2 separate regions of the Homo sapiens genome follow, and region 2 is linked to region 1. Evidence: promoter capture Hi-C in 16 types of primary human blood cells and fetal thymus (Javierre and others, 2016). All regions are on one chromosome and are shown on one strand. The core of a region is centred on a gene start or on the middle of the fragment in contact, and the rest is flanking DNA. Distances in the headings are between cores, read along the strand shown. Region 1 holds the start of P2RY12 (purinergic receptor P2Y12). Region 2 overlaps AADACL2-AS1 (AADACL2 antisense RNA 1).

Region 1 (6,504 bases), core at 1,897-4,396:
TCTGTTAAGATGTTACCTCCTTCGGGAGGCCTTTGATCACCTCTAAAAATAGGACCACAGCCATTCTGTATGCCATTGCCATGCCTCAAACCACTTGTTACACTTAGTTTTATTTGTCCCACTACTATTATTTGAGCTCCATGAGAGCTTGTTGTTTAGTTAACTACCTTGCCCCCTTAAGCCAGCCTTAGGGAGGGGTTCATTTCTTCTGATGAGATTTGGGAAGTGCTTTCCTCTCACCTTGCAGGGTACTTACAGGTCATCTGTTGGGATGGAGTACTTCTGCATGTGACTCATTTGAACTCTTTTAAGATGACTCTCATTAATGACCATATTTCAGAGCATGATAGGGTTTTTGTTAGTGGTTTTTTGTTTTTGTTTTGAATTGCACTTTTTTTTTGCTCATCTCATCTGATTTTAGGGTGTTGCCCACTTGTGGCTCCCTTTCCTAAGCAAATTTTTCCTTTTCCAGCATTAGTGTGAGTCAGTGAGGAAGTGAAGAAGCAGCCCACTTTATAAACTGATAAAGCCACTTGGCTGATGTCTGCAATGCCATATTTTTCAAAGTACCGTGCGTTCTCTTTATCAAGGAAGACACATACATAAGATAGCAGACCTTCTCTTCTATAAAACATCAAAATAATACATTTGCTAGGGTTCAGCAAGTCCCTAGAAATATAACAGGACTGAGGCAAAATGTAATTCTCTCTCTCCAGTGTTTTTCTTCGTAAGATCAATGAGGTAATGTATTTTAAAAGTTTTTATTAATGCTTAATTTGATGGCCCTCTCAAGCATTTTCCCAGACTTAATCATAGGCTAGCTATATAATTATATAAGATTTTCTTCCTCCACCTAGAACGGCAAATGCACAAATAAATAGCCAGATTTCTTTCTGCATGGAGGAAGAAGAAAGCTAAAATTTTATTTAGCTTTGTTTGTTAATTTGTTAAAGATAAGAAGTGGTTTTTTGCTATCAGTATAAAGCTCAATTTATCTTTAAATGAGAGAAAAATTAAACTTTAATGGGGAGTTTTTTTCCGGATCTTAGATTTTAAGTAACTGGAGAGAAGAACGATACCAAGATGACATAAAAGCGCGGCAGATGATGCACGAAGCATTGCAACTCCGCCTAAATTTGGTAAGTGACATTTCTAGTATTTTCCCTCCATTAAACATATTTACATGTGAAAATACCTCCAGCTTTCCACTTCTCCTAAGTGCAAAGTCTGCATTACAAGGTGAGGCCTTCCACTCTTTGCTCTCTGTAATTACTTCCCTGTTTCTAAAGCCTTCTGTTTCCCTTGCTGCTTTCCTTCCTGTCTGGTCAGACATCTAGACAGTGCTAGGTATTTTAAGCATAGATTTGCCTTCTCTACCTCTACCCCAGTGAATCTCTCCTTCTCTTCAGTTTGTGCTAAGAATAAATCTGAGAAGACTGTTATAAGTGTTAGCTTCTACTATACTTACTTAAAACCATTTAAAAAGTCTTTTAACTCAAAGTTTTGTCCAACTTTCCATCAAATTGATTATAAAGACAAATCCCACAGAGAAGTTTTATAGAAATTTAAAATGTCTCACATATTGTGCATTCCTTGAGTTTTCTTTTCCCATCAGGCAGGCCCAAGTGCAGGCCCCTCTGGAGGATGGCCTGCCTGATACTTTTGCAGTTGTTTCTAACCTTGTCCCAACACGTGAACTGGTAGGTGTGCGGGCCAAGCCTCCTGCCCACCACTGCTGTGATAGTGGATGTTTCCATATGGTATTATGATAGCAGGCTTAGATTCAATAGTAATTGTACAGCAAACACAAAGATGCAGATAATTGGATTACATGACTTTGACATTATTCAGGTTTAATTCAACTATAATTGCATCATAAAACTGGACATCATAAAAGATTTGGAACAAAAGAAAGCTAAGTTTATTGGTGCCCACATTCAGATACTCACGTCCCTTCTTCATTTTAGTTAATGTTTGAATGACTGAACTGTGCTGAAAGAACTAAAAATAGTGATAAACATGTAGGTAAAAGAGAAAAGATAAGGTAATCTATAAACTAGAGCATCCCTTGTTTTTTTAAATAAAAAACAATCAAAATTTGATAACATAAAGCAATGGGGTGTTCTTTCTGTTTTACAGAATGCAAATATCTTACTGTATTTTGTCTGCTAGGTAGGAGGAATGTTTGACACGGTGCAGAGGAGCACCCAGTGGACTACAGACTGGGCCCTGCTACTCCTTCAGATCATTACTTCAGGAACTGTTGACATGCACACTAACAAGTATGTTTTTATCACTTCACATTGATTTTGCTACATGTATGCATGGTATAAGCTTTGATATACTGATGGCGATTTCTGCCACATCTTATTTACTTGGATGCTATTAAAAATTCTGTGCCTTGAATAAAAATACTCAGTTAAATAAGTGTATTTCAGTTTCACTTTAAGATGAAAATAATTATTTTCTTTCTTAGTGAATTATTCACAACAGTTCTTGACATGCTGGGTGTTTTAATCAATGGAACGTTAGCCTCTGACCTATCAAATGCATCCCCTGGGGGATCTGAAGAGAACAAGCGTGCATACATGAATTTAGTAAAGAAACTGAAAGTAAGTTTGAGATCAGCCTGTATTATGAGCTCAAGTTGTTTATGGATTTATTATCTAGTGCATTTTAATTTATTACTCATTAAATGTTATTAATTGTATTCAACTTAATTTAATGTGATTATTTGCTATTTGTTTCACCTAACCTTATTAGTACCCAGAAGTTACATGCACATAACCTTGATTATTTTTTATTGAAAACAATTACATTATAAAACATGTTTAATTTTTTAAAGAACTTTAGAAATCCACTGTTAAATATATAACCAGAATACTAACATTAGATAGATTTAGGATAACTCTATGCTTGGACTGGCACGTGTAATTGAAAAAATAGCCATCTGCATTGAAATTTATAAATCGATTCATTTGACCGACCACTAACAGACTCCTTTAAAAAAAAATTGTAAGAAAACAGTGCAAAAAAGAAACCAAATAAATCTGATGCATTACCAATCAAATAAATCAATGGTTACCTTGTAATCTGACCCTGGACATGAGAAAGTGTTCTGTTCTGCAGCTCCTGTCTTCTGATTGTGATCACTACCCTGGATTTTTGTCATTTCAGCACTATGATGTTTGTTGTGTAACAACAGTGCCTTTGTATGTGTTCTATTTTCTACTTAAATAGAAGAAATGAAACACTCATTGCTCTATTTGGAACTGCCTTGTAGAACATGTTCAGGGTTAAAGAACATGCGCTAAGCTATAAAAAGGGAAATGTTTCATAGGGGAACTTCCTTCTGGTTAACTTTTGCCTTCATTGTAATTTCTGTCCCACTTCTCACTCTCTCTCTCTCTCTTTTTTCTTTAGAAAGAGCTAGGAGACAAGCGATCAGAAAGTATTGACAAAGTTCGACAGTTACTACCTTTGCCGAAACAGACATGTGATGTCATCACTTGTGAACCTATGGGTTCCTTGATTGACACAAAAGGAAACAAAATTGCTGGATTTGACTCTATAGATAAAAAACAGGCAAGAGTGAATGTTTTTTCTTATATATAAATTTATTTACAAAAGATGAAATACTTTTTTTTGTCTTACCATAGGATATATAAAATATATTAATTTTGCTGTTGATGTTTTTAAGGCATATGCTTGTCTTCTAAGTGTACTTAGTCATTGGCATTATCATATAAAGAGGTCATATCTTTGAAGATCTACGTTTTATATGTTTAAAGGACTTAAAATGTTTCCCTGAATTTAAGTAAATTTTTGGAAACCTACCAAGAGAAAACTAAGTAAAAGCTTAGTGTAAAAAAAAAATTGCATAAATAAGTTCTGATTATACTTCAGATTTAGAAGCAGAATATATTTATCAATGAAAAATTTCTTGTAAGCTGAGCATGGTGGCACATGTCTTTAGTTCCAGCTACTTGGGAGGCTGAGGCAGGAGGATTGCTTGAAGCCAGGAGTTTAAGGCTGCAATGTGCTAGGCTCATGCCTGTGAATAGCCACTACACCCTAGCCTGGGCAACAAAGTGAGACCCTGTCTCTGGGGGGGGAAAAAAAAAAAAAAACCTTCCTGTAGTAAGCTATTTCAAATAAAAATTATTTTAATTGTTAGGATATTCTCTATTCCTATCAAGCAGTATTTAATGGACATTTGTTTTATATAAGATATTAAAGATGGTTCTCTAAAATATGAGAAAATTGGTCAGTTACTCTTTTAATGAACAGTAAGCAACCACCGACATTCCACAATCACCAAGATGAAAGACAGAGTTCCTACCCTCAAGGGGGAAGTAGACAGACAATTACAGTGTAATGAGATTTGTGTGACATGGTACAGAGAGAGTATTAGGGGATAGAATAGAGGGTCCCCAGGAAAATTGACACGAGTCATTTTGAAGGATTAAGAGTTAGCTGGGAGGTAGGGAAAATTGTGGTACAAATAAAGGGAGAGTTTATATGAAGACATGAAAGAATCAGATTTACCAGGGAATTTAGAGTAGCCTGAGAATCTAATACCAGTTTGTGTAAAGAAAAAAAGCTAAAGTCATGGTCAAGTTTGAGTTTGCAGTGTCAGCGGACTTCCTGGTAGTAAGACATCTGGAATCCATTTGGATGTGTGGTTTTTACACCAAGGAAAAAGTTCTCATCTCAAGACAAATATTAGGAAACAGTCAATTTACAGGTGGCAATTGAACCTTGGTTTTATTTTGTTTTACTTTGTTTATTTATATTTTTTGAGATGGAATCTCGCTCTGTCGCCCAGGCTGGAGTGCAGTAGTGCGATCTTTGCTCACTGCAACCTCTGTCTCTCGGGTTCAAACGATTCTCCTGTCTCAGCCTCCTGAGTACCTGGGATTACAGACATGCACCACCAGGCCCAGCTAATTTTTTTTTGTTTTTGTCTTTGTTTTTTTTTTTTTTTCAAGACAGAGTCTTGCTCTGTCACCCAGGCTGGAGTGCAGTGGCGTGATCTCGGCTCACTGCAACCTCCACCTCCCGGGTTCAAGCAATTCTCTGCCTCAGCCTCCTGAGTAGCTGAGATTACAGGTGCCTGCCATCATGCCTGGCTAATTTTTGTATTTTTAGTGGAGACGGAGTTTCACCATCTTGGCCAGGCTGGTCTTGAACTCCTGACCTCGTGATCCACCTGCCTCAGCCTCCCAAATTGCTGAGATTACAGGTGTGAGCCACCACACCTAGCCTTTTTTTGTATTCTTAGTAGAGACGGGGTTTCACCATGTTGGCCAGGCTGGTCTCAAAGTCCTTACCTCAGGTGATCCCACCCGCCTCAGCCTCACCAAGTGTTGGGATTACAGACACGAGCCACTGTGCCTGGCCTGAACCTTAGTTTTAGATGAAGCTACTCATAAAAGAATGCATATAGATAACAACAGTAACACTTACATCTTAGGGAATGACTGAGTAGTTATTTGGGGGCCATTTAAGGAAAAATATTTTTAAATTGACATTTTAAGGCAAGTGCCAAGAGATGTCACCAATTAATGTTAAGAATAAAAAGAGGGTAACCGTTTTTTTTTTTCTAGAGTCAGTAAATATAAGCTTGAGTTGAAAGACTTTACTTATTCCTGCTGCTACAATTTAATTCTCTAATAATAATATTATATTCAGAGTATGGCTTATTAAGTACAGGGCCCACATATTGAACCAAGTTCATGCAGATTTGGATTGAAGTTAATACTAACCCAATTACAGGTTGACTATAACTTGACTCTTAAATTTGATATTATCTTCAAAATTATAAATAGATTACAGAGATTTAGAACTGGTTATAATTTAGTAAGATTAACTTTGCAGTGTTAGAATTTTTAGCAACAAATTTTTAGAATTTTTTTAGCAAAAAGAGGAAATACACATTAACAATAAAATATGCTAGACTGCCTCTGTTGCCTAAACAGAGCATCATGTGGTTAAAGAACTGTAGAACCGGGCTTACAAAGGTCTGAATTCTAGCCACTGCTCTCCGGTGATGTAGCTGTGTAACCCTCTCTGCTGTATTCTCGGGTTCTCTAGGGCTCATGCCAGCCAAAGTGTTCTCTGACTCCATGTCCCATACAAGCCTGGCCTATGAATAAGGAAAAGATCTGAGTGTGCTATCTTAGAGCGCTATTTTCCCACAGGGTCTCCAGGTCTCTACGAAGCAGAAGGTGTCCCCGTGGGACTTGTTTGAGGGTCAGAAGAACCCAGCTCCTTTGTCCTGGGCCTGGTTTGGGACAGTCCGAGTGGACCGAAGAGTGATCAAGTACGAGGAGCAGCATCACCTCCTGCTGTATCACACACACCCCATGCCCAAGCCCCGCAGTTACTACCTCCAGCCACTGCCCCTGCCTCCTGAGGAGGAAGAGGAAGAGCCCACATCTCCAGTTTCTCAGGAACCAGAAAGGAAGTCCGCTGAGCTGTCAGATCAGGGAAAAACCACAA
Region 2 (6,504 bases), core at 2,779-5,278, 460 kb after region 1:
AATTGGAATACAACTGTATTAGTGTATCTAAACATATTTAAACATAGCAAAGGCAATGCCATGCACTATAATGTTAAAATGGCTGTGATATCACTAGACAGTAGAAAATTTTCAGCTTCATTAGAATGTTATGGGGCCACCATTGTATATGTGGTCTAAAACATCAATATGTAGCACATAACTGTACTTTAAATAAGCTCTAGGTTACTTATAATACCTCATCCAATGTAAATGATATGTAAATAGTTATTATACCATGTTGTTTAAGGAATATGACAAGAAAAAATGTCTGCATATGTTTAGTGCAGATGCGATTCAAAAAAATGTATTTTTGATCCAGGATTGGTTGAATCCACAGATGTATAACTCATGACTATGAAGGGATGACTGTGCTTTGTTTTTATAATTATGGTAATATAAACACATACACAAATTGTGGATCATTTAGATGACCACTTTATAACTGGGCACAGCCATGAAACCAAAACCTAAAGTCGAGGTTTTGAATTTTTAAAATTGAAAAATCTTTGTAGTCCTCATAGGTACTCTTGATAGTCCACAAGTGCCCAAATTTGAGAAACGTTTCTCAAATTCCTTTCAGCATTTAATATTGATTTAAAAATGTGATGCTCACTTGCTTTAAATGAAGCTACCAGCAGAAAGCAGCACACTGAAAAAAAAAAAGACAAAATTGCTTTTCCTCTATTAGGTTTGTGTGCTCAACTCCTATAAGCATCTTGAAAGAAGTAGAGCGATTTAGACGATAATGCATTTGACGTCTAAACCCAAGCAGTAACAGTGTTTGTGAAGGAAAACCTCCAGGAAGAGCTTGCTAAAATTTCTAACAAAATGATGTTAATCTATAGTGCTCTTTGTCAGCATGTAACAGAAGAGATGTCATAAACTCCGAGAGAAAAGAAAAGTCAAAACATTAAAAGGATTCGTGACATCAATGATACAGAAGCAAAGAATGTTAAACATTTCAAGGAAATACACTCCACAAACACAAAAGTCGCTCCCTTGTGGTTTCAAAATAATTGAACCTATGCAAAAATGAAGTTATTAATGAATGGACTGAACATTATTAAGAGCAATTTATCAAAAGAAAGATAGATTGCTGATCAGTTGCAGAATGAACATACTCCAAACGTAAAGATGGTTCAGAGTATTTGGACTAATCAATTGTAATAACTCAAAGCAGAAGGAAATAGATGGCAAGTAGAAAGACTAATATCTGTTGAGCTTCTAATGTGTGTTTATTTTAATCAAATAATTACTAAGATCATCTACTAATAACAATCATGGGTTCAAACTCTGTCTCTGCTAACAAATAGTTCAAAGCCCACAAATTTGTAAAGATCACTAAAAAAAAAAAGCAGAATTCAAAAATTGTCAAATACAGAATTCTTATTTTTGGGAGCCAATATAATTAGTTACCAATATTTATTTTTTGTTTGTTTTGGGGGTTTTTCATTTTATTTTTTGTTTTCTGGGTTTGTTTTTGTTTTGAGACAGGGTCTCACTCTGTCATCCTGGCTAGAGTGCAGCAGTGCAATTATGGCTCAGCCTTATCCTCCCCAGGCTCAGGTGATTCTCCCGTATCAGCCTCTGGAGTGGCTGGGACTACAGGCGTGTGCCACCATGCCAGGCTAACTTTGCTATTTTCTGTAGAGACCAGGGTTTTGCCATGTTCCCAGGCTGGTCTTGAACTCCTGGGCTCAAGGGATCCTCCCGACTCTGCCTCCCAAAGTAGAGGGATTACAGGCTTGAGTCACCAGGCACAGCCAGTTACCAACACTTAATTACTATATCGATGCTACTTTTGTGATCTAATTATTTGAGTTTTATTTAATTTGATCTGATATGTTGAGTATAATACAGACAATCATGAATTTGTTACCAAAATATTTAATGATTATACTTTTTCATTAAAAAAACTAATTTAAAATTCATAACTGAATAAGCATTTGTCATAAAATACATCATTATCCTATAATTAACTTCTTTCTTTTTAGCATATATGTGTTATTTCTAGACATATAACAGAGGGGATATGTTTTAATATTAAAATTATAACTTTAATTTTTTAAAAAAATCATATTTCTTTATGAATCAGTCCTTAAAAATTTTAGACTCTTTATGGCCCCATATATTCATTTCTGATCAAACACACCGAAAATAAAAACAAAAACCCAGATAAACACCAAAACTGCCCATCTAAGTTAGATCTGCCCCTTTCTCTCTTGCCAATAATGGAAAAATCACCAGCTTTCACAACTTTGCAGAAAAGGTCAAAAATAAACAAAAGAACAGGCCATGTGTTTTATTATGATGTTAACACAAATAAAAGAGAAAGCAAACATTTCTCCCTCTGCTTTCATAGTACACAAGATTAAAAGCAACAGCTGGCTTTGCCTTCCTAAAACTATCTATCATGTTCACAATTGCCTAACACTGACTTAGAGATAAACTGAGCTGAAGGTATACAGAGAGAAGGGTTCTATCATAATTGTGCCACGACTTCTGGCTGACTGAATTCTGTGAAACCTACAGCACACCCTCTGATATTCTCCCTCACCTCAGAGCAGTGTCTCAACACTTTACTAATTAGTGTACTAGCCTTGTGATTTTGCCATATCTAGGTGTCATCCATACTATTAATTTTCTTAATGTTTTCTATTAATTATTATAAAATTAAATACATTTGTTCTTAAGAAGCCAACTTTATGTTATATCATAAATAGGAAAGTAGTGTCTCCTGTCATGAATGTAATAGAAATAAAATACTAGTACATACTATCTGAATACTCTTGCCTATCAAAACTCTGAGCCTAAGGCCTCACATATCTTTTATAAAGGATAACAGCAAGTGTTACAGAATACTAAAAACTTGAAATAATCAAATAAGAGTTTCTTCTTGATGTATTTCACATTGGTTGAAAGGTAATTGTAAAAAGGAAATGCAAGATTCGAGTTTGGTAATAAAAAAGTCAGGATTGATAATGTTTTAGATTCGTACATTTCCAGGCACTTCAGAAAAATATCAATTTTATGTCAAGCTCCAAGACAACCCAGAATATCCCATCAGGCCTCCCCAAGGTTGGAGTGAAGTCTGCTGGAGGCATAATAGGTTTCATTATCCACAGACTCAGCTCTCCATCTGTCCGTATCATTCCTTTCTCCTGATATACAATTCTCTCACCATGTTTCCTTCAAGTTAAGAGGCTGTTAAATGTACACTGGCTACTATATTAGAGTAAGAGCAACTTATTGGGTATAAATAAAACTATGAAATTTGACAAAAATATAGTTTGGAATTTGCTGTTGTTTTCAGGTTTACTTCCATCCAATACTAGGCTGAGGTCAGTTATGTTTATTTTGTTTGCTTGTTTTCTTCCCAGTTGTATTAATTATTGAGCATTTAAGATCCAATTTTGTTTGCCTCCAAAGTTTGCCATTGATCAACATATAATTCAATTTCTACAAACAAATGATAAAACTTAACCGAACCAACTATGCCCAAACCACATCAGTTAACACCACTTGTCTGAATAGAATTCTTTTCATTCTCTAAGGCTCAACCCCAAAACATTTTCTCTTTACTTTCTCAATAAGAACTTTATTTCATTGTTGCAACACTCAATTTTTGTCCTTTTTTAAAAAATTATTTAAAAAATTATTTTTTATTTCATATTTCCCTGTAGTACCTATTATAATGTTTTGTATTAGAAACTAAATAATTGCTGAATTCATTTATGAATAAATAAATAGGAAGTGACTATATTTGAACCGAACACTATTAAAGACTTCCCAAACAATTATGTTGATTATATTAAAGAGAATATATATCTTGTTTTTTGCATAACAGTATATTGAATCTCTAATGAAAACAAGCTTTGAAAATATATTTAGGAGATTAACTTTACATTTTAAAATCCAATGTGTAGAATTTTTACAAATATGACAGTATTTTGTATAGAAATGTACTCCCTCCCTCAAAGGAAGAATGGAGAAAGTCATTGCTTTATCCTGATTCCATTTAATAAAATTTATATCGGTCCTCAGAGAATTTATTTATTTAATTAATTTATTTAATTTTATGTTAGTATTAAAACTAGCATAACTATGTCATATAATAGCAACTTATAGTCAATGTAGAGACTAAAGCTTTTAGAGTTGTTTTATAAAAGCAGATCTAACAAATACTTTTAAAATGTTTATCTTTTTAACTTAGCTATAATTTATTACTGAGTAAGATATAAATCAAAGTTAATCATTCTCTGTATTTTTATTGCTTTAAAAGGCATGTCTGAAATGGTGAATTATTTTCTCATTAGAATTTTAATCAATTACTAAAGTTCCATTTTATAATTTATTTATTTTTGTAGTCAATATTTAATCTGCTATTATGTGTTAAGCACTTCAAGTGAATAATGATTAATCAGTTTTCGTCCTTTCTGTTTAGTTGGGACTCTTGTTTTTAAGTAAAAGAAACACGTTTAATCATCTAAATAATAAAGCAGTTTAGTGGGGATTTGAAGGAATATGGGAGAGCAATTTCTAAAATATGGAAAAACAGCTCATAGAAAAACCAAAGGCAGAAACTGCCTAGAGCCACAGCTCATGGAAAAGTGAAGGTAACAGCTACCAGGGACCCAAGCTCCTATCTCCTAGAGGGTGATTCCTCTACCTTGCTCTGGATTTCTGATTTAAAATGGAATAAATGACACAGCAACACCCTTTACCTCACAGAAATCTTGATACATGCTTTGACTTCTGCTCTTGATGATGCCTCATTTTCTCAGTTACCCCGTTTGAAATTTCCAAAGAGAAATCTAATATCTAGGCTTACTTTTCCAAACCAGATTATTTAATTCAGAGGTCAAACCATGAGAGCCCACCCCTAAACATCCTGCACAATAAGGGCTTACTTGCTCAGCACACCCTGTGGGTTAGCAGGATCTCTTAAGTGTGACTGAGATTTCTTGAACATTTTCCTCCAAAAACTTCGGGTTTCTTGAGGTAGATAAGTACATCATCCAAAGTATTCTTTGCATATTCACAGGTAGAACCAAATTTCACTTTCTAGTTTTTTCAAATAGTATGTTAACATAATCATGTATGTTTTCTTATCTCACTTTACAAGTAAAATTCTTGTCAGATTACATACTGAATTCTATTCCTTAAGATATATTTCTTTTTTTCTTTTTTCTTTTACTTTAACTTCTGGGATACAAGTGCAGAACATGCAGGTTTGTTACATAGGTATACATGTGCCAGAGTGGTTTGCTGCACCTATCAAGCCATCATCTAGGTTTTAAGCCCCACGTGCATTAGCTATTTGTCCTAACGTTCTCCCTCCCTTCGCCCCCAAGCCCCTGACTGGCCCAAGTGTGTGTTGTTACCTTCCCTGTGTCCATGTGTTCTCATTGTTCGACTCCCACTTATGAGTGAGAACGTGTGGTGTTTGGTTTTCTGTTCCTGTGTTAGTTTGCTGAGGATGATGGCTTCTAGCTTCATCCTTGTCCCTGCAAAGGACATGAACTCATTCGTTTTTAGGGCTGCATAGTATTCCATGGTGTATATTACCACATTTTCTTTATCCAGTCTATCATTGATGGGCATTTGGGTTGGTTCCATGTCTTTGTTATTGTAAATAGTGCCGCAGTAAACATTCATGTGCATGTGTCTTTATAGTAGAATGATTTATAATCCTTTGGGTATATACCCAGGAATGGGATCGCCGGGTCAAATGGTATTTCTGGTTCTAGATCCTTGAGGAATCGCCCCACTGTCTTCAACAATGGTTGAACTAATTTACATCCCCACCAAGTGTAAAAGCGTCTCTATTTCTCCACAGCATCACCAGCATCTATTGTTTCTTGACCTTTTTAATAATCGCCATTCTGACTGGCATGAGATAGTATCTCATTGTGGTTTTGATTTGCACTTCTCTAATGATGAGTGATGTTGAGCTTTTTTTTATGTTTATTGGCTGTATAAATGTCTTCTTTTGAGAAGTGTCTATTCACATCCTTTGCCTACTTTTTGATGGGGTTGTTTTTTTTCCTGTAAATTTGTTTAAGTTCTTTGTAGATTCTGAATATTAGACCTTTGTCAGGTGGGTAGATTGCAAAAATTTTCTCCTGTTCTTTAGGTTGTCATTCACTCTGATGATAGTTTATTTTGCTGTGCAGAAGTTCTTTAGTTTAGCTAGATCCCATTTGTCAATTTTGGCTTTTGTTGCCATTGCTTTTTGTCATGAAGTCTTTGCCCATGCATATGTCCTGAATGGTATTGCCTAGGTTTTCATCTAGGGTTTTCATGGTTTTGGGTTTTACATTTAAGTCTTTAATCCATCTTGAGTTAAGTTTTGTATAAGGTCTAAAGAAGGGATCCAGTTTCAGTTTTCTGCATATGGCTAGCCATGTTTCCCAGCACCATGTATTAAATAGGGAATCTTTTCCCCATTACTTGTTCTTGTCAGGTTTGTCGAAGATCAGA

The links. Contacts are between HindIII fragments. The CHiCAGO score rates a contact against its expected background, and 5 or more counts as called.
Region 2: a fragment that was not itself captured here is called in contact with the fragment with the promoter of P2RY12 in region 1 in 1 of 17 cell types (megakaryocytes); the score reaches 7.8 in megakaryocytes.

Annotation. Positions count from the first base shown.
Region 1 is chr3:151,381,607-151,388,110 of GRCh38, forward strand. It overlaps P2RY12 (purinergic receptor P2Y12), which reads right to left and starts at 3,147. Exons shown (of 3, transcript NM_022788.5): 1 at 3,086-3,147. MED12L (mediator complex subunit 12L) reads left to right here. Exons shown (of 45, transcript NM_001393769.1): 33 at 1,050-1,139; 34 at 2,173-2,282; 35 at 2,477-2,612; 36 at 3,424-3,585; 37 at 6,204-6,504. The HindIII fragment of the contact is 1,524 bases long and covers 2,333-3,856 here.
Region 2 is chr3:151,841,061-151,847,564 of GRCh38, forward strand. All of the region lies in intron 1 of AADACL2-AS1 (AADACL2 antisense RNA 1), which reads right to left. Among named protein-coding and RNA genes, the nearest start is that of SUCNR1, 29 kb to the right of the region's middle. The HindIII fragment of the contact is 273 bases long and covers 3,893-4,165 here.